Linked DNA regions of Homo sapiens: regions 2, 3 and 4 are each linked to region 1. Evidence: promoter capture Hi-C in 16 types of primary human blood cells and fetal thymus (Javierre and others, 2016). All regions are on one chromosome and are shown on one strand. The core of a region is centred on a gene start or on the middle of the fragment in contact, and the rest is flanking DNA. Distances in the headings are between cores, read along the strand shown.

Region 1 (4,701 bases), core at 443-2,942:
GACTGAGAGAAACCGCGTTCTGACGCTGTTGCTGTGAGACTTGGTCCAGCCCTGCCTGACTTTGGCACACGCTAGGACGCCACCGTTTCCTGAGCCCATACCCATACGCTTCCTTTCCTTGACTACAGCCGCTTTGGCTGGGTCTCTGCTCTGGAAACCAGGTTGTCCTGATGCACTTGGTCAAAATCCCGGATGAGGCCAGGTGCGGTGGCTCACGCCTGTAATCCCAGCACTTTGGGAGGCCAAGGCGGGCTGATCACCTGAAGTCAGGAGTTCAAGACCAGCCTGGCCAACATGGTGAAACCCCGTCTCTACTAAAAATACAAAAATTAGCTGGGCACGGTTGTGCACGCTTGAAATCCCATCTACTCAGGAGGCTGAGACAGGAGAATCATTTGAATTTAGGAAGCAGAAATTACAGTGAGCCAAGATCGTGCCACTGCACTCCAGCCTGGGCAACAGAGCAAAAAAAAAAAAAAGAAAGAAAGAAAAAACAATCCGGGATGTCCTGTGAAAGTCCCCACCTCCTACAGGTGATCCCATCAGTCCGAACCAAGGTCATCTGAAGCAGGTGTGGAATCACCCTGTTCAGACCGGGCCAGGGAGGCTCTGAGGGCAGCAGGGACAGGATGGGCCAGAGTACCCAGGGAAGCGGGGGGGGGGGGGGGGGGGTGGTTGGGGGGAGTCGGCCCTCACAGGAGGGGAGGGGCACCACTTCCCTGAGACCAGTTCTGGTAAAAGGGGCCGAGCCTCAGTTTCCCTGTCCGTAGAATGAGACCTCAGTCCTGACAGTACCAGCTGCGATTTGGGGTGGTGGAGCAGGAGGGCCTGGGAAGGAGGGGAAGCCATGCTGTCCAGCACGAGGAGAAGCTGAATAAAGGCAAGGGTTACCCTTGAACCTCACCCCCTGCCCTCTCCCAAGATCTCCCACTCGGTGGGCAGCCTGTACGCAACTTGCACGAGTTCAATCCACACAAGCGCCTGCTCGGGCTCTGACCCTGGCTCTGCCGCTTGCCCGCTCCAGGACCTCCCATAAGTTACTTCATTTCTTTGGGCCTCAGTTTCTTTGTCTGCGAAATGGAAATCATAGTTTTCATCTCATAAATGTTGTAAGTAAATGAAATTATTTATGTAACTCCTGGGCATGTGCCAGGCACACGCTGCGCTCCAACAAACATTACAAGTTAACATTCTCGCTCCCAGGCCCGCAGGGACCGCAGAGCCTCCGCCGAGGACCCCAGCCCCCCCAACACCCGCCCTCGCCCTCCAGTCCCCCGCGCCCCCCAAGCCCCACCCTCCCTCTCCCGCGGTCCGCGGGCTCCACCAAGCGCCCACCTGCTGCGCTGCGGCGGCGGCTCCGGGGCCTGAACCCGGGTCTGAACCCGGGCCTCGGCGCCGTGGGGGGTGGACCCGGGAGCGCGGCCGGAGAGGGGAGTCAGGGTCAGCTCCCCGCAGGCGCCCCGACCCCCGCCTCCGCGCCCATCCCGCGCGTCCCCGCCGCCCCAAGAGCGTCCTAAGACACCCGGGGAAACGCCTTCCCTGTGATGCCGCGGACCCAGTCCCGTCGCGGACACGGCGGGGCGGGCGGGGGTGGCAGCGTCCGAGGCGGCGCGGGCCCTTTAAGGCGGCCGGCCTCGTTAGCATACATTTGCATGGCCCCGCCCCGCCGCTTGAGGCTGCCGCGCGGGGCTCAGTCCGGCGGGGGCGCCGCGGAGAGCGGAGGGCGCCGGGCTGCGGAACGCGAAGCGGAGGGCGCGGGACCCTGCACGCCGCCCGCGGGCCCATGTGAGCGCCATGCGGCGCCGCGCAGCCCGGGGACCCGGCCCGCCGCCCCCAGGGCCCGGACTCTCGCGGCTGCCGCTGCCGCTGCTGCTGCTGCTGGCGCTGGGGACCCGCGGGGGCTGCGCCGCGCCCGCACCCGCGCCGCGCGCCGAGGACCTCAGCCTGGGAGTGGTGAGCGCGCGGGCGGGACGGGCGCGGAGCTCCTGGGCCGGAGCCGGGGGTCTCCGCGGGCCGGGTGGCGGGGACCGGGAAGACCCCAGCAGTGCACGTCGGCGTCGCGCGGGAGCCCTGGCGCCCTGGACCCATTTCCTGGGTGGGGAGACTGAGGCAGGGACGCGGGCTGAGCGACCGGGCGAGCGCACGCGAGTCCTGGGGAGGCGCCGGCTGCCGTCCCGGCTCCGTGCGCTGGGAGCGCGCCGCAGCCGCAGGAGCCCGTGGAGTTGTGAGGGGGTCGCCCACCCGGAGCCCGGGTCGCCGGCTTGCAGCAGCCCCGGAGCAGCCGGGCTGGGCGAGAGCAGGCATCGCGGCCGCCCCGAGCTCTGCGCGCTGCGTGCGTTCCGGGTGGGAGTGGCGGGGGCAGGAGCACGCACCCACAAAGCGAGGAAGGGCAGGGGCTACGGAGTGGGGGCACCCCGAAAGCCTTGAGCCCCCGAGTTTGCTCGGTTGAGGGTGTTGGGGGCACAGGGATGCTGGCCCCCAGCTCCCCACTGGACAAGGACCTGGCCCTCAGCCTCCTTCCCCTCCACCCCAGGTCGGCCAGGCTGGCCCTGCCTTGCCCTGGTACAGTGCTGAGCCGGGGGCGCGGGGAGAGCCTTCCTCACTCCACACCCAGTAGCTGTCCCCAGCTCAGCTTAGAAACCCTGCCTGGGGGCAGCGACGTGGCCTCTTCCTACAGCCCCCTCCCCTGTTCCGCAGCCGGGACTCGCGTCTCCTGTGGACCCGGAAGATTTAGAGCACACGTCGTGGGGTCAGCGCCCCCCCGCTGGGGCGGCCGGGTGAACTCCCGCTGGGTTCGTTGGTTCCTTCTGAGGCTCCTGCCCCACCGCTGCCTTCAATGGACTCCTACCCAGGGAGTCGGGCCAGGAGCCGAGGCCTCCCCGCCCCACACAAGTACTCGGCCTGGCCCTCGTCCGCGGACAGTCTCCCAGTGGGGTCCTGGCAGGGCCCCTCGCCCAGCGCAGTGGACATTCAGGAGCTCCAAAACCTTGGGGTCCAAGCAAGTCAGCGCAGGTGTATTTCAGGCAGTCGAGGCATATGGAGGGGCCACTTGGGTGGCACCCGCAGCCCCTGTGGTTGGCAGGACTTGGCCAGGGGGTCTGGATGGGAAGCCGATTTGGCCACCGTTTGCCCCAGGCCCCGAAGCCATCTGGGAGGGTGCTGGCCACTGTCCCTGCTGCCCGCGTCCAGGTGCCTGCAGGTCCCCACAGTGGCTTCCTTCCAGCCAGGCAGCCTGTGAACTTGGGGTGCCCCCCTCCACCTCCTCAAGACCCTTTTGTAGGTGCGGATCTCCCGGATCCCCCACTGAGAATCACGCCCTGGGGGCCTGGGGTCTCCAGCTGTGGAGGGAGGTGAACCCAGGCCCGCCTTCCAGGTCCGAGGGTGCCGCAGAAGGGGCCGGGGCAATGCCAGGGAAGGACTCAAGGTGGGGCCCACACACTCAGGAGGATGGACCCCCGGCCGAGCCATGTTGGCTGATCAGACCCAGTGCGGTTTGGAAGTTTCTCGCCACCCACCTGCCCCCCTGCCCGGAGAGAGTGGGTCAGGCGCCCTCCTCTCGGCTGGTACCTGCGCCTCGGTCTCTCCTGGCACCCCGGGGGTCACCCGCCCCGCGCCCTGCGACAGCACCGAGCGGAGGATGTGGCTCCCCAGCCTGGCCGGGGGCAGTGAGTGGGGCCCCGGTGTCCAGCCGGAGAGGGAGGACGCTGCGGGCAGCCCCCTGCCTGGAGCCCCGCTCCGTGTCGGGCCCGGCCTGGCGTGGAGCCTCCGTCCTGCCGCGGCTTCCTGCTCACACTGGCGGTGCGGGGCGTCCTCTGCTGGCCCTCGGGGAACCGCGGGCCGAGCTCAGGCCCAGGGGCGGGCGGCTTCCCCGCGGGGAGGGACGAGGAGGCCGGGATCTGGGCGGGAGCGGGGACTCCTCCTCCGCCCGCTCGCCGGAGGCGCTCCCGGAGTGGACTGATATTCAGGTCTGGGCGCCAGGGACGAGAAGTGCTCCTTTGTCTCAGAGCTGCAGACAGAGCTGCACCCAGCAGGGCTGGAGCCGGGGCTGGAGGGGAGGGCCCGCCCCGGAGCGCCCCCCGTATGCACGTGAACAAGGCCGGGATTCAGGCTGCTGGGCTGCGGAGCCGGGCTTTCAGGAGCCCCCGGCGGGGACAAAAGAGCGCACTGTCCCCCCGGGGGTCCTTGGCGGGGCTGCTTGTCCTTGTGGGCCTGAGTTTTTTGTCTTTCTGTGTTTTGAGTACGACATACAGCGAGCAGCCCAGGGTCTCCACAGGCGTCCGCCTCCCTCCCGCCCCTGGTTCCTGGGCACGGATGGGACGCGGCTCTCCGTGCCTTATTTTTGCACGGTGGCACCGTGGGCCGTGCGATTGCAGCTTCGCACGCTATCTGGAGTGTCTGTGCCGGAGCCGCCCGTCTATTCACCTGGTTAAGCCAGGCTCGGCCTGCAGCCTGCTTCTGGCCAGAACTTCCCGGACTCGCGGCGAGAGTGTCTCGGGATCTGGGTCCTGGGTGGCAGTTGTGTGGTGGCAGATTTTGACAAGCTGCTCTAAAGTTTCTGCTCCATTTCTCCTCTCGGCAGCACAGCCTGTGGCTGTCATCACCGCGCCCACGGCACAGTGGCAGCTCCCTTGATCTTCTGTAGGAGGTGGGGTGGGGCGGGGCAGGTGGGGGGTACTGCTGAGGTTGTGGGATGCTGGGCCA
Region 2 (4,837 bases), core at 1,555-4,054, 850 kb before region 1:
GGCCGCTGCTTTGTTGGCATGTGTTGATCATGCTCTTGCAGGGTGCTGAGTCTGTGGGCCTGGGAAGGGCAGCTGCATGCATGATCTCCAAGGGAAGGGCGGGAGCCACAGCACAGTGATTACAAACGCAGACTCCAGATCCAGGCTGCCTGGGTTCAAATCCTGACTCGTCCCAGACCAGCTGTGTGGCCTTGGGCAAGTTACCGCACCTCCCTGTGCTTCAGTTTTCTCCCCTGTGAAATGGGGACAGTAATGACCCCTAGTTCACAGGTTGTTGGGAGGATTTAACCTCAGCCCATATAAGTTCTCCTCACCTGCTAGAAATCATCCTTTGTCTTATGCCGTGGTCTCTACATATGAAGGGAATTAACTTCTCATCTAGTAAATCTGTGACAAATATTCTTTCCCTGGATGGTTGTCTGTCTTTGAGTTTGTTACGGTAATTTTTTTTGCCTTGCAGAATATTATATTTATGCACTTAAATTTATTAGTCTTTTCTTATGACTCCTAGATTTTTATTTTTCCTTTTTTTGTCTTGTCAAAAAAGATCTTTCCTCATTTTATTTTTTGGATGTTTTAGGATTCAGTGCTTATAACAAGAAAAAATTATCAAATTAGTTTGTCAATATTGTGCTTGTTTCTTTTTCCTTCAGATTTTTCCTTGTTGTATTGATGGCCCAACTCCATGAGGCAAAGTTCCTTAAAAGGCTAATATGGAAGGCACATTGTGAATTTGTTATGACTCTATGAAGACGTGAATTGATACTTAAATATAAGCTGTTGCTCAGGTAGAAGTCATTGTTTTGTGCGTTGAGTTAACTAAATGAAAAGCTTGGTTACCGGCACCATGGATGGCCTTCGATCTACCCTTACCTAACACCACATGGAATTTTTTTATTTTTATTTTTCTTCCTGAACAGAAAGACATTTGGCCAAGACAGGCTCATTTTGAATTGAGTGAAAGAAATTTTAAAATGCAGCAAAGTTTTTGGAAAAAATTAACTTCCATGAATCCTACTGGGAATTTGTTTCATAACAAAAATTTCACAACGCACTGTGCTGACTTCCTTGTGAAACGGGTTGTTTCTGAGTGTGCAGGGAAGTGGCGGGAGGCTTGGGGGTTTGTCCTGGCTTCTGTACCCCTCAGCGCCCAAGGCAGGGAAGTGGCGGGAGGCTCGGGGGGTTGTCCTGGCTTCTGTACCCCTCAGCGCCCAAGGCAGGTGTTGCAGGAAGCCCGTTCATGAGGTGGGTGTGGGTGGTGCCAGCCAGGTCTGGGGACACCAGCGTCAGCTGCCCCAGGCCTCTGTGCAACCCCCACAGTCGCACCCTTTTGCGGTAACCCACATTACTGGGCACTCGGGAAGGCTGTTTTCTTTCCCAGGAGCCCTAAGGACAGATGCCGCAGGGCTTGGAGTTGTACCCCGTAGCCTCTCAGAGGTCCAGAAAGGTCCAGGCCTCTTCCAATTTTTTTGAGGTTCTTCTTCTCTTAAAAAATAAAATGGGGAAATTCCATACCAGGGTTATAAAATGTATGCTGTGTTTTTCCTGAATCCTGCGAGGGCTTTGAACTCACAAAGGTATAGTTGTCTTGATATATTGTCACAAGACATTTGAAGGACTTCTAACAGATATGTTAATTCATAAGGCATCACAGAAAGCATGGTGGGCAATGAGACACTGCCTTATACACGAATGACAAATGTCTTCTTTGAATTCAGTGACTCTCTAAGACTGTGTCCATAACCTCATGTGAAGGTAAGGTCTAAAGTCTAAATTTGGCACCATTTATAGAAATAAAGCCCAGGGCAAATATCCTTCTGCCTCTCCCCTGCACCCACCGTCCCATCATGGGCCTCTTTGGACCAGTTCTGGGCACGTGTTCTCTCTCAGCACCACTGAACCCTCTTACCCATGTGCCTGGGCCAGGCTTGGCGGGGGTGAGGCAGCTGGATGTATTTCCAGCTGTCAGGGGCAGAATCCAGACAGGCAGCTAGTGTCTCACACACACACACACACACACACACACACACACACACACACACACTGGAGTTTACACACAAAGAAGGGCCAGGTGGGCAGATGCTACTGGAGGCAGAGAAGTGGAATAGAGACAACCAGAGCTCCAAAATGCAACGCCAGAGAGGCCCAAGCTCCACAGAGCCTCCAGCCAGGCCCTGCCCTGACTTCCCCTTCAGCAGAGAGCCCGGCCCCCAGACCAGTGGGTGTGAGTGCAGAACAGCGGTCGGGGTGGGTGCGGGGCATGCTCAGGAGCTGGGCTTTTGCGGTTCCTCTTTTTTTTTTTTTGAGACGGAGTCTCGCTCTGTCGCCCAGGCTGGAGTGCAGTGGCACAATCTCGGCTCACTGCAAGCTCTGCCTCCCGGGTTCACGCCATTCTCCTGCCTCAGCCTCCTGAGCAGCTGGGACGACAGGCACCTGCCACCACGCCTGGCTAATTTTTTGTATTTTTAGTAGAGACGGGGTTTCACCATGTTAGTAAAGATGGTCTCGATCTCCTGACCTCATGATCCACCCGCCTCGGCCTCCCTAAGTGCTGGGATTACAGGCGTGAGCCACCATGCCTGGACCCTCTTTTTTTTGAGACAGAGTCTTGCTCTGTTGCCCAGGCTGGAGTGCAATGGCGTGGTCTCGGCTCACTGCAACCTCTGCCTCCGTGGTTCAAACAATTCTCCTGCCTCAGCCTCCTGAGTAGCTGGGACTACAGGTGCATGCCACCACACCCGGCCAATTTTTATATTTTTAGTAGAGACGGCATTTCACTATGCTGGCCAGGCTGGTCTCAAACTCCTGACCTCAGGTGATCCACTTGCCTCGGCCTCCCAAAGTGCTGGGATTACAGGCGTGAGCCACCGCGCCCGGCCTGCAGTTCCTCTTATAGTAAAAACATGGAGAAATCCCACATGAGGATCATAAAAATTACATTGTTTTTCCATGTTTACATTGATCACAGTAGGACTTTGCACCCACAAAGGTACAATATCTAATTGTCATAATTTACTGTAATATACTGCCACAACACATTTGAGGTATGTCCTATCTGCTGCTGGTGGCGGAGGCAACATGAACTAATGAGCCAGCTCATTCATGCTAACATGCGTCGCTCAGACCATTTAGTCCAGGTGCAATCCCTCCTCCCCCGCAGCGTGGGCCTGGGGTCAGGACTTACCACGAATGTGCAGACTAGAGTCTTGAAAAAGGTTTCAGCTGCTGCCCCCTCTGTATCCAACTGCGGGAAATGAACAATTGAAGATATCAACAACCTTAAAAGTGTGCTTCCCTTTGGCAAGAAATGCCCTCTTGGGAATGTATCCTAAAGGCATATAGTCTGAGATATGCAAAAGAATTTGCTTCAAGTTCTGTTTGAAAATTTCTTCAAAAAGTGGAAGAAAACCTTAAGATCCAGCAACAGGGGATTGCTGTTTAAAAAAAAGACTGTGGTGCTTGTTTAGAATGCGCCGCTGTGCAGACATAAAAGTGACAACGTGACAGTGTATTTATGGACATCGGAGGAAGTTCACGGTGGAGTAAACTTTATAGAAATGTTGTTTATAAACCAGTGTGCCTGAGATGGTTCGTGTCTTTGTAAAATCTATTTATAGAAGAGGCTTAGGAAGGAGCCGCCCTAACCACATTTCTGGAGGAATAGGAGAGAAACCTGGAGGGTGTAGGTCTTCACATTTGCATGATCCCGGGGAGTGGGGGCGGGGAACTGCCTGGGGCTGCAGCGATCTTCATCAGTCACTGGTGACCTTGAGTGAATGAGCCTCAGTTCCTTCATCTGTATAGTGGGGATGAAGCAGGATTTTTGTACTTTTTAAAAGGCGAGAATTCATTTCAAACTCCTAGAAAAGTGCCTGGCACTGTGTGAGCCCTTAATAAACATGAGCAAATATCACTGTCTGGATTTTCTGAACTGAACATACACTGCCTTTAGAATGGGGACAAAATGCTTTTCGAATGAAAAATAAAAAGCAAAGAGAACCATGTGCTTGCGAGAAGTCAAGTCCCCTGCTCTCTGTGAATAACTGATCTTGTGACTTTCCTCAGGGGTCACGTTTTCTTTTTTCTGGAAGACACAAGGAGAACAGTCTAGACCAATCCCTTCTGCGTATGGGGGACAGGTCATCTCCAATGGGTTCAAAGTCTGCTCCAGCGGTGGCAGAGGCTCTGTGGAGCTGTATACGCGGGACAATTCCATGACATGGGAGGCCTCCTTCAGCCCCCCAGGTGAGTGACAGCATCGGTCCCGGGAGGCTCTGCCTGGAGGAGTGGAGTCTTCTCTGAGAATGGACGCTGAGAAGCCCAACGCAGCCCAAGGAGCCCAGGGATGCTGCTGCCTCCTGGCACCCGAGCTCCTTTCCTTTAAGGGTTGTTGGGGAGGTGCATGGGGAGAGGCAAGGAGGTGCCCTTGGTAAGCCGCCTTTGGTTGGTGCAGAGCCTGGGCTCCGTCTGCCCGTGCACTGTGTGCCTGCTGTAGGTTACCTGACCACACTGACCTCAGTGATCACACCTGTGATGTGCAGATGATATTGACAGTACTTACCTCACGGTTTCCAGGACATTAAGCTGAAGATATGGTGTGCAAAGTGCAAGCAGTGGTTACATTTCTCCTTCTTTTCCTTCTCATTTTCCCTCTTCCTCCTCATCTGCCTCCTTTTTCTCTCACAGTCTTTGTCTCTTCCTCTTTCTCTTCCTCCCCCTCCTCTTCTTCCTTCTTCTTAGTGGTATAGACTTGAAATTGTTTAAAGCATGACGAGAAGAAGCTTTTGGAGAGAGAGGCTGAAGAATCGGGGAGCAGAGGAAGGGGCTAGGGGAGAGC
Region 3 (4,267 bases), core at 214-2,713, 750 kb before region 1:
TGGAAGTTTCACCAGCTTTGCTTTTGTGGGGTAAACCACACTTGGTCATGATGTATTATCTTTTTGTATACTGCTAAATCTAATTGGCTACAGTTGTTGAGAATTTTTGTGTCTACGTGCATGTTGGATATTGGTCTGCAGTTTTCTTTTTTTGGTAATGTCTTTGTTTTTATATCGAGGTAATGATACCTTTATAAAAGTTACATTTTGGGATGCACTTTGGAATAGTCTGTATAGAATTGATATTATTTCTTCCATTTTAGTAGAATTCACCATGAAGTCACCTGAGCCTTCATTTTCAATGTTGGCAGGTTTTCAACTACACATTCAGTTTCTTTTATGGATGCAGGACTATGTAGGTCGTCTACTTCTTTTTAAATAAGTTCAAGCAGTTTATGTTTTTTTGAAATATTCATCAATTTCATCAAAGTTGTTTAATTTATAGGCACAGAGTTTTTTGTGGTATTCCGTTGTTAGCCTTTTTCATGCCTGAAGGGTCTGTGGTGATGTTCCCATTTCACTTTTTTATCTATAATCTGTGTCTTCTTTTTTCTGAGTCACTCTTACTATAGGTTTATTAATTTTATTGATATTTTTCCAAAGATATAACTTTTGGCTTCATTGATTTTTCTCTCTTGTGTTTCTGTTGTCAATTTCATTGGCTTATCCTCTTTGTCTTTAATTTACTTCCTTCAGCTTTCTTTGAGTTTAATTTGCTCTTCATTTTAAAAGTTCTTAAAATGTAGGTTTAGGTTATTACTATGAAGCTTTATTATTTTCTAATATAAACATTTAATGCTATATTTTTTCTGTGAGCACTGATCTAGCTGCATTGCACACATTTTGATATGTTTTTATTTTGATTAAATTTAAAATATTTTCTAATTTTCCTTGTGACTTCCTCTTCAACCTCTTCAACCTATGTGTTATTTTGAAGTGTGTAGTTTAATTCCAAATAGTTGGGAATTTTCCAGAGAGCTTTCTGCTGTTGATTTGTAAATAGTTTTTTTATGATCAGAAAATATTCTTTGTATAATTTTAGTTCTTTTAAATTTGTTAAAAGTTTTTATGACACCCCCATATATGTTCAGTCTTTGATGAAAGTCCCATGTGCACTTGAAAAAAAGTATATTCTTGGTGGAGTGTTCTATAAATGTCAATTACACCAAGTCGATTGATAGTTAAGATTATGTCTTCTATATTCTTACTACTACTTTTCTGTCAACTTGTTCTGTCAATTAAAGAGAGAGGAGTGTGAATTCTCCAATTTTAGTGGTGGATTTACCTATGTCTACTTCTAGTTTTATTCTTTTTTTTATGTTTTTTGAGACAGAGTCTCGCTCTGTAACCCAGGCTGGAGTGCAGTGGCATGGTCTCGGCTCACTGCAAGCTCCGCCTCCCAGGTTCACGCCGTTCTCCTGCCTCAGCCTCCCGAGTAGCTGGGACTACAGGCGCCCGCCACCACGCCCGGCTAATTTTTTGTATTTTTAGTAGAGACGGGGTTTCACCGTGTTAGCCAGGATGGTCTCGATCTCCTGACCTCGTGATCCGCCCGCCTCGGCCTCCCAAAGTGCTGGGATTACAGGCGTGAGCCACTGCACCCGGCCTAGTTTTATGAATTTTTCTTTAATGAATTTTGAAGTTCTGTTATTAGGTGCATGTATGTTTAGGATTGTTATGTCTTCTTGGAAGATTAGCCCTTTTATCATTACATAATGTCCCTCTTTACCCTGGGAAATATGCGTTACTTTGAAGTCTACTTAGTTTAATTTAGATAAAACTACTCTAGCTTTGTTGATTAGTGTTTGAGTGCTGTATCTTTTCCCATAATTTAACTTTTATCTTATTTATATATTTATATTTAAAGTGAGTTTCTTTTAGACTGCATGTAGCTGGGTCGTGTCTTTTCTTTAATCCAGTCCTAAAATTTCTGTTTTTAATTGACATGTTTAGACAATTTATATTTCATGTAATCATTGGTGTGGCTGGATTAAAATCTACCATTTTGCTAGATGTCTTCTAACTTTTCTATCTTTTTAAAATGTTGTCTTTTTCTGACTTCATTTGGATTGTTGGATATCTTTTATGATGCTATTTTATCTCTACTATAAATGATTTCTAATGTATACATCCTTTTAACTTTTTTGATAGTGGTTGACCTAAGCTTACAGTGTATATATGTCTAATTCATTCATGCCTGCCTTCAAGTACTATGATATCATTCCAAATATATTCTAAGACATTGTAACAATAGGTTCACACTTCCTCCTGCCCGTTCTGTGTGCTGTTGTTGTAGTACATTTCACCTTTGTACAGACACCATAAACGCAATGCATTGCTAGTATTTTTTCCCCCGGATAATGAGTTATCTTCTAGAGCAATTAAAATTAAGACAATAATAATTGCCTGTTTACCTTCACTTATTCCACTTCCAGCTGTTCTATTTCTTTGTGTAGATTTTTGTCTAGTATCATACTCCTTTAACTCTTCTTGCAGTTCTGGTCCACTGGCAATAGATTCAGTTACCATTTGAAAAAGTATTCTCTTTTAGTCTTGAAAGATTTTCATTGGGCTTAGAATTCTGGGCCACTTTTTTTCTAGACTGATACTTTAAGAAATTATACAAGTAATATATCAATATATTATTTTGTTCAAAAGTAAAACATTATAGAAAAGCAAGTGTTCCCTTTGATCTTTACCTCTTATCCTGATCTCCACCCCTTTCCCCAGTAATAACCACGGTGGGAGGGTTTTTTATGTGTTTTTTCAATAATTTATATATAATTTATATTTATAATCATAGGAAATATATGGTGTTGCTTAATTCAATGTGTCTTCCATCCTTCCTCCACCTTTTGTTTCTGTGTTTTGCCTGTGTGGACACACATGTTTTTTACCGTATTTATGCATGTTACATTTTATGTATGCATGACTGAACATTTTTCTGTTTAGATGCAGACTTCCTGGGTCATAGGGCCGTACATATCTTTAATGCTATTGATACTGCTTCATCTGGCTTCCATAGCAGATTTATTTATGCACAAGCTGCAAGCCTGCCTCTTTGTTTTCGCTGAGTCCCTGGGAAGTAGATCTTCATTGATGCCACTGAAGGCTCTACTCCTCTGGCTAACTAGGTCATCGTCACACCTTTGCAGCTCCATCTGAGCGATGTGACTTTCATATTGTTTAGCTTACCCTTTGTGTAAGCAGAAGGGGCAGCTCATACCCGTGGCTACGTTCACCTAATCCAATGCCTGTTAATGTTCAGGCCCCCCCCTCAAATTGAAGTATGGTACTTATGCAGCCAATTGACAGACAAAGGCGCAATATATAACACAACAGCTGGTTTTTGCTGACTCCCTCCAAGGTCCTGGGAAAATTAGATCAAAAGGGGTGGGGAGGGAGAGGAGGAGGACATGACCCTGTCTTTAAGTCCCATCAATTCTGAAGTTATTAATGGGGTTTTGCTCCTCTCAGTTGGTACGTCTGAGTGGCTCTCGCTTTGTCCTCTGCTCTCTGCTAAATGCCTTCTCCCTCCCCTAGAAGAGCAGATCATTAATCATGAAAATCACCACTGAACTGCTGTCTGAGTCTCCATCCTCAAACTCAGAGCCACCCCTGGGTCATGTCGGAAAGACCGTCCCAACCCCTCCCTCGCGCTCCACGTCGCCCAGGGCTAACGCAGGGTTACCGTTGCCCGAGGCTGCTGGTGCGTGTTCCATCTGGTAGACATTGGCCAGAGAGGTACAAGCTGGGGTCTTCATCGGTCATGCCATCGGACAGCCACAGTTCTCATCTGCCACATCCATGCTGACACCGCAGTTGAAAGTGAATTCAAAGCAAATACAAACTAGAGCCTTTTAATTTATTCGCCTTTATGAATGCTTTCCCCCAAGGGCCATTGCCTTTGGCTGAAGTAAGGATTTGTCTTTACTGATAACTTGAGGTTCCAACTTCAGGGAAGAACCATTTAAATCTTTTTTTTTTTTTAATTTGAAAATATAGAAGACAGGGTACAGTGGCTCACGCCTATAATCCTAGTACTTTGGGAGGCTGAGGCAGGAAGGTTGTTTTAGCCCAGGAGTTTGAGACCAGCCAGAGCAACATAGCAAGACTATATCTCTACAAAAATAAAAAGAAAAGTATTAATTGGGCACAGTGGCATGCACCTGTAGTCCCAGCTACTTGGGAGGCTGAGGTGGGAGGATCACGTGAGCGCAGGAGGTCAAGACTGCAGTGAGCTATGATCACACCACTGTACTCCAGC
Region 4 (4,809 bases), core at 2,234-4,733, 900 kb before region 1:
GTAGATCTGTCCCGTTTCCTCCTGCAGATAATTTATAGTGAGGCCGAGATGCCCTCCAGCTGACAGCTAGTGCCTGCTGTGGCTGCTCATCACACACCACATTTGTGTTCATTCTTAACTGGAGTTTCCTGTGGGTTTGTGTTTCCAGCAAGATTGAGAATTCTCTGGGTCAGAGACCATGCGATCTCTGTTCCTTCTGGCTCTCAGCAAGAGACCAGGTACCATCCTTGATCCTTATTTCTGACCCACAGCTAATTGCAACAAGTGCCAACCAGGCAATGAAAAATAAGAGACTTGTGGTTTTCCAAACATAGGCCGGTTTCTTACTACAGAAGGCAGCTGTTTCGACAGGTCAGCTGACGCTGGTCCCAAACAAGCAGTGATTCACAGCATCCTAGGAACTTCATGCTAAAGATAGAGGAGGAGAGAGGTCGGAATCTTGAAGAACACGGCGTTCTTTCATCTGCTATTTTAAAGTCTCTAACTTAGTAAAGAATACTCTTTGTTTTACAGTTCTGCGTGAAAGTAAGGGATATGTTTGGTTGATGTGGTTTGGGAGGAGCGTGCTTTCCCGCCGGGCTTCTCGCTCTGCAAAATGCTGAGATGTTGTTAAGGGTGAATTACACAGATTTGGAAAAACAAAAGATGGATGAAGAATTGAATGTATAATAAAGAAGAGTGCCACAGGCTGGTTGCTTAAAATGAGAAGCCTTAAGATGTGCTTGAAACTTTTATAAAACAGAATTTTTGGCCGGGCACAATGGCCCACACCTGTAATCCCAGCACTTTGGGAGGCCGAGGCAGGCAGATCACAAGGTCAAGAGATAGAGATCATCCTGGACAACATGGTAAAACCCCGTCTCTACTAAAAATACAAAAATTAGCTGGGCATAGTGGTGCACGCCTGTAGTCCCAGCTACTCGGGAGGCTGAGGCAGGAGAATCGCTTGCACCCGGGAGGCAGAGGTTGCAGTGAGCCGAGATCGCACCACTGCACTCCAGCCTGGGCAACAAGAGTGAAACTCCATCTAAAAAAAAAAAAGAATTTTTATTATTTAAGTCATTGGCTGGATACATTCTTCTTGTGAAGATGTAAAATGTCGCAACAAGGCTAGAGAGCTCTTTTTTTAAACTTTATTAATTTATTTGAGACAGGGTCTTTCTCTGTCACACAGGCTGCAGTGCCAGTGGCACGATCTTGGCTCACTGTATCTTCAACCTCCCAGGCTCAAGCGATCCTCCTGCCTCAGCCTCCTGAGTAGCTGTGATTACAGCTACTCAGCTAATTACCACCACACCCAGCTAATTTTTCTATTTTTATTAGCGATGAGGTCTCACTTTGTTGCCCAGGCTGGTCTCAAATTGCTCGCCTCAAGTGACCCTCCCGCCTTGGCCTCCCAAAATGCTGGGATTACAAGCATGAGCCACTGCACCTGGCCTTAATTTTTTTTTAAGACAATGTCTTACTCTGTCACCAAGGCTGGAGTGCAGTAGCTCAATCTCAGTTCACTACAGCCCTGAACTCCTGGGCTCAAGTGATCCTCCCACCTCAGCCTCCTAAGCAGCTGGGACTGTAGAATAGTCCCAGGTACACCCCTGGGCAGTAAAGACCTGTGACTTCTGGCCCTTCTCTCCATTCTCCAGAAGTATATTCTCTTTTGGTTTGCATCCTATCCTTCCAGAACTTTCCCTATGCCTTTGCATAATATGTACCCAGATGTCATTTATGTATATGCTGTACGTAAATAATATCGCATGATCTTAATAGTTCTGTAACTTGTTTCTTTTGTTTTGTTTTTGTTTTCATGTGGCATGTCTTGGAACTCTTCCCATGTTAGTGGCGTGTATTCTATATACTGCCACCCAGGATTGAAAAATATTAATCAGGTTATTTAGGCCACTCTAAAGCTTTTGGAGAATTCTAGAGCCTCAAATTCATACATTTTGACAACTTGCTTCCTTTACCTGGCAATAGGTCATCTTGAATTTCTCCAAGCTTCCTAAAATCCCCATTATTTTAGGAATTTTCCCCTAAATATCTGCAGCAAGTCAGAGTTCCTTCTTGGAAAAATGGCCGCCTTCTCCCCTATGTGGACCCCCTCTTCTACATATTCACTTGCTTGAATTAATGAGTTGCTATTTTCTATTCTATTCCTTACTAACCAACAAGAAAATGATTATGATTTCTCTATCACGTTTGTCAGAAAACTGGTCTAATGAGGCCTGGCACAGTGGCTCAAACCTGTAATCCCAGCATTTTGGGAGGCTGAGGTGGGAGGATCACTTGAGTCCAGGAGTTTGAGACCAGCCCTGTGAACAACATAGCCAGACCCTGTCTCTACAAATTAAAAAATTTGTAGAGACAGGAGGTCGAGGCTACAGCGAGCCATGATCACACCACTGCACTCCAGCCTGGGCGAAACAGCAAGATCCTGTCTCAAAAAAGTAATAATAGGCCAGGCGTGGTGGCTCATGCCTGTAATCCCAGCACTTTGGAAGGCAGAGGCGGGTAGATCACTTGAGGTCAGGAGTTCGAGACCAGCCTGGGAAAGATAGTGAGACCCCTGTCTCTACAAAAAATAAAAGAATTAGCTGGGTGTGGTAGTGCACGCCTGTGGTCCTGGCTACTGGGGAGGCTAAGGTGGAAGGATTCTTTGAACCCAGAAGGTTGAGGCTGCAGTGAGCTGTGATTGTACCATTGCACTCCAGCCTTGGTGACAGGAGACCCTGTTTCAAAAAAGAAAAGAAAAAAAGAGAAAAGAAAAGAAAAGCTGGTCTAATGACATAATTAAGACAAGTCAGAGAGTGACTCCAGGCTTGGCACTATTTGTAAACATCCGCAGCAAGGAAAGGGTCTGAATAGAAGGGCAAAGCTGAACCCCAGGATGTCACCTGGATCCAGCTGTGCCTGCAGCCAGCATCACCACTGGCCTTTCCTTCCACGGACCAGTTTGTTTTCCTTCTGCTTCTATCAGATGGGTTGGTAACTGACATAGCCCTGACAGACAGGGCCGTAGTGTCAGATCCCATTGCTGTCTTCTCATGCCTCTTTCCGGTTTCAGCATCTGCCAGGAGCTTCTGTTTTTCCTTCTTGGATGCTCTGCCTCTGTTCTCTATTTATTCCGACCCTGCAAAGAACCAAAAACGTCACAATCTGTACACAGCGTAAATCATTACTTGTCTGACTGCATTCATGGTTACTGTGTGTCCTTGTGTATTAGTTCATATTTGGCTTAGGTAACACAGCAAAACACACACACACAGAAAACAACAAACCCAGCAATGCTTCGTATTTATGCAGCAATAGCATCACTTATTTGGCAACACATTTTTGCCATGGTTTTAACTCTAGTTTGTGGGGAGTGGCATATGGAGAAGTTTCACTCCTTCCTGAGTTTTCTTGTACTTGTCATTCTTGAGTTCCTGCCAAAAGTTTACATCTAATTGCCCCGACGTCATCCTTCCTTCCCCTCAAATAGAAAAAACAATGAGTCCTGGAATTTTTTTTTTTTTTTAAACAGGGTCTTGCTTTATCGCCCAGGCTGGAGTGCAGTGGTGCGATCTCGGCTCACTGCAACCTCCCTCTCCTGGGCTCAAGCGATCCTCCTGCCTCAGCCTCCCAAGTAGCTGGGACTACAGGTGCATGCAACCATGCCTGGCTAATTTTTATATTTTTAGTAGAGACGGGGTTTTGCCATGTTGCACAAGCTGGATGTAAATTCTTACAAACCTGTTCCCTGCACATTTATTTTCTCATTCCACACGACTGTCAAATTGGAAATTCTCCCAAGATGCTTCTGACTGTATCAGGCAGAGTGGAGTGTGAGTGGTGCTGTTTCTCTCTTCACGAGGACACGGCTGGGTGTCTTGGCCACCCATTTTTATTCTTTGTTACTGCGACCGAGGAACAGGGACTATTGTCAAAAAGACTTGAGCAAGGTCGGACTAGGAAGGTTTTTTTTTTTTTTTCCATGGGTTAAAGAAAGAAACATTCTCTTGAAGATGCTATGAGATGGGAAGGTTTCCAAAGCCTTTGAATAGCTGCACATGAACTCATCATAAAAACGTAAAAATAATCCTCTTTGTGGTGCACGTGATTGTGAGCCTCTGTGTCTGTCTGGGATGCGAGTGTGAGAGAATTGAGTTAGAGGTGACCACAGGTCACGTGTCTGGTGATGATAATGTCTTCACGGACCACAGAATATAATATCAAGGTAATGAGAAACTCTACTGTGCACTTCTTTGTTATAAAATATTTTTCTTTCAGAATGTTTAGACATACGGAAAGGACGTGGTGGAGTGGTTAAGAACGCAGGTGCTGGAGTGAGGCTCCCTGCATTGGAACCTTTAATCCTCCACTCACAAACTGGCCTTGGGGAACCTACTTTACCTCTCAGAACTTCTGTTTCCTCATCTTTAAAAGAAGGTTTTAAAAATAGTGGCTCACTCTACAAAAGAATTTTAAAAAATTCCCTGGGCATGGTTGCACATGCTTGTAGTCCCAGCTACTTGGGAGGCTGAGGCAGGAGTATGACTGGAGCTCAGGAGATCAAAGCCGCTCTGAACTGTGGTCACACCACTACACTCCAGCGGGGGTGACAGAGCAAGACCTGGTCTCCAAAAAGTAAAAATAAAATAGCATAAACTTCCTAGGGTTGTCCTAAGGAATCAGCAGATGCCTGCAGGTTGGCACTCGGGGCAGGGTTGGCACAGGGGGCTGCCCCACCAGTGATCACTTTGAGGATGAGGATGACATTGTCTCTGATCATGAGATGAAGATGGTGAAGGAAGGGGATGGTGATTTAACCTT

What was found. Contacts are between HindIII fragments. The CHiCAGO score rates a contact against its expected background, and 5 or more counts as called.
Region 2: a contact is called between a fragment that was not itself captured here and the fragment with the promoter of MMP17 in region 1, in 1 of 17 cell types (M2 macrophages). The highest score is 5.9, in M2 macrophages.
Region 3: a fragment that was not itself captured here is called in contact with the fragment with the promoter of MMP17 in region 1 in 2 of 17 cell types (M2 macrophages and M1 macrophages); the score reaches 7.2 in M2 macrophages.
Region 4: a contact is called between a fragment that was not itself captured here and the fragment with the promoter of MMP17 in region 1, in 2 of 17 cell types (naive B cells and M2 macrophages). The highest score is 5.7, in naive B cells.

Annotation. Positions count from the first base shown.
Region 1 is chr12:131,826,701-131,831,401 of GRCh38, forward strand. MMP17 (matrix metallopeptidase 17) reads left to right here and starts at 1,693. Exons shown (of 10, transcript NM_016155.7): 1 at 1,693-1,953. The coding sequence starts at 1,795. RefSeq lists silencers at 1,558-1,687, 3,677-3,936 and an enhancer at 3,420-4,029. The HindIII fragment of the contact is 25,913 bases long and covers 1-4,701 here.
Region 2 is chr12:130,977,819-130,982,655 of GRCh38, forward strand. ADGRD1 (adhesion G protein-coupled receptor D1) reads left to right here. Exons shown (of 25, transcript NM_198827.5): 5 at 4,066-4,245. Among named protein-coding and RNA genes, the nearest start is that of ADGRD1-AS1, 14 kb to the right of the region's middle. RefSeq lists an enhancer at 1,728-2,718. The HindIII fragment of the contact is 3,950 bases long and covers 830-4,779 here.
Region 3 is chr12:131,079,313-131,083,579 of GRCh38, forward strand. The region is part of intron 14 of ADGRD1 (adhesion G protein-coupled receptor D1); the gene reads left to right. Among named protein-coding and RNA genes, the nearest start is that of LINC01257, 84 kb to the right of the region's middle. The HindIII fragment of the contact is 1,397 bases long and covers 766-2,162 here.
Region 4 is chr12:130,925,455-130,930,263 of GRCh38, forward strand. No RefSeq gene overlaps it. Among named protein-coding and RNA genes, the nearest start is that of ADGRD1, 26 kb to the right of the region's middle. The HindIII fragment of the contact is 2,981 bases long and covers 1,994-4,809 here.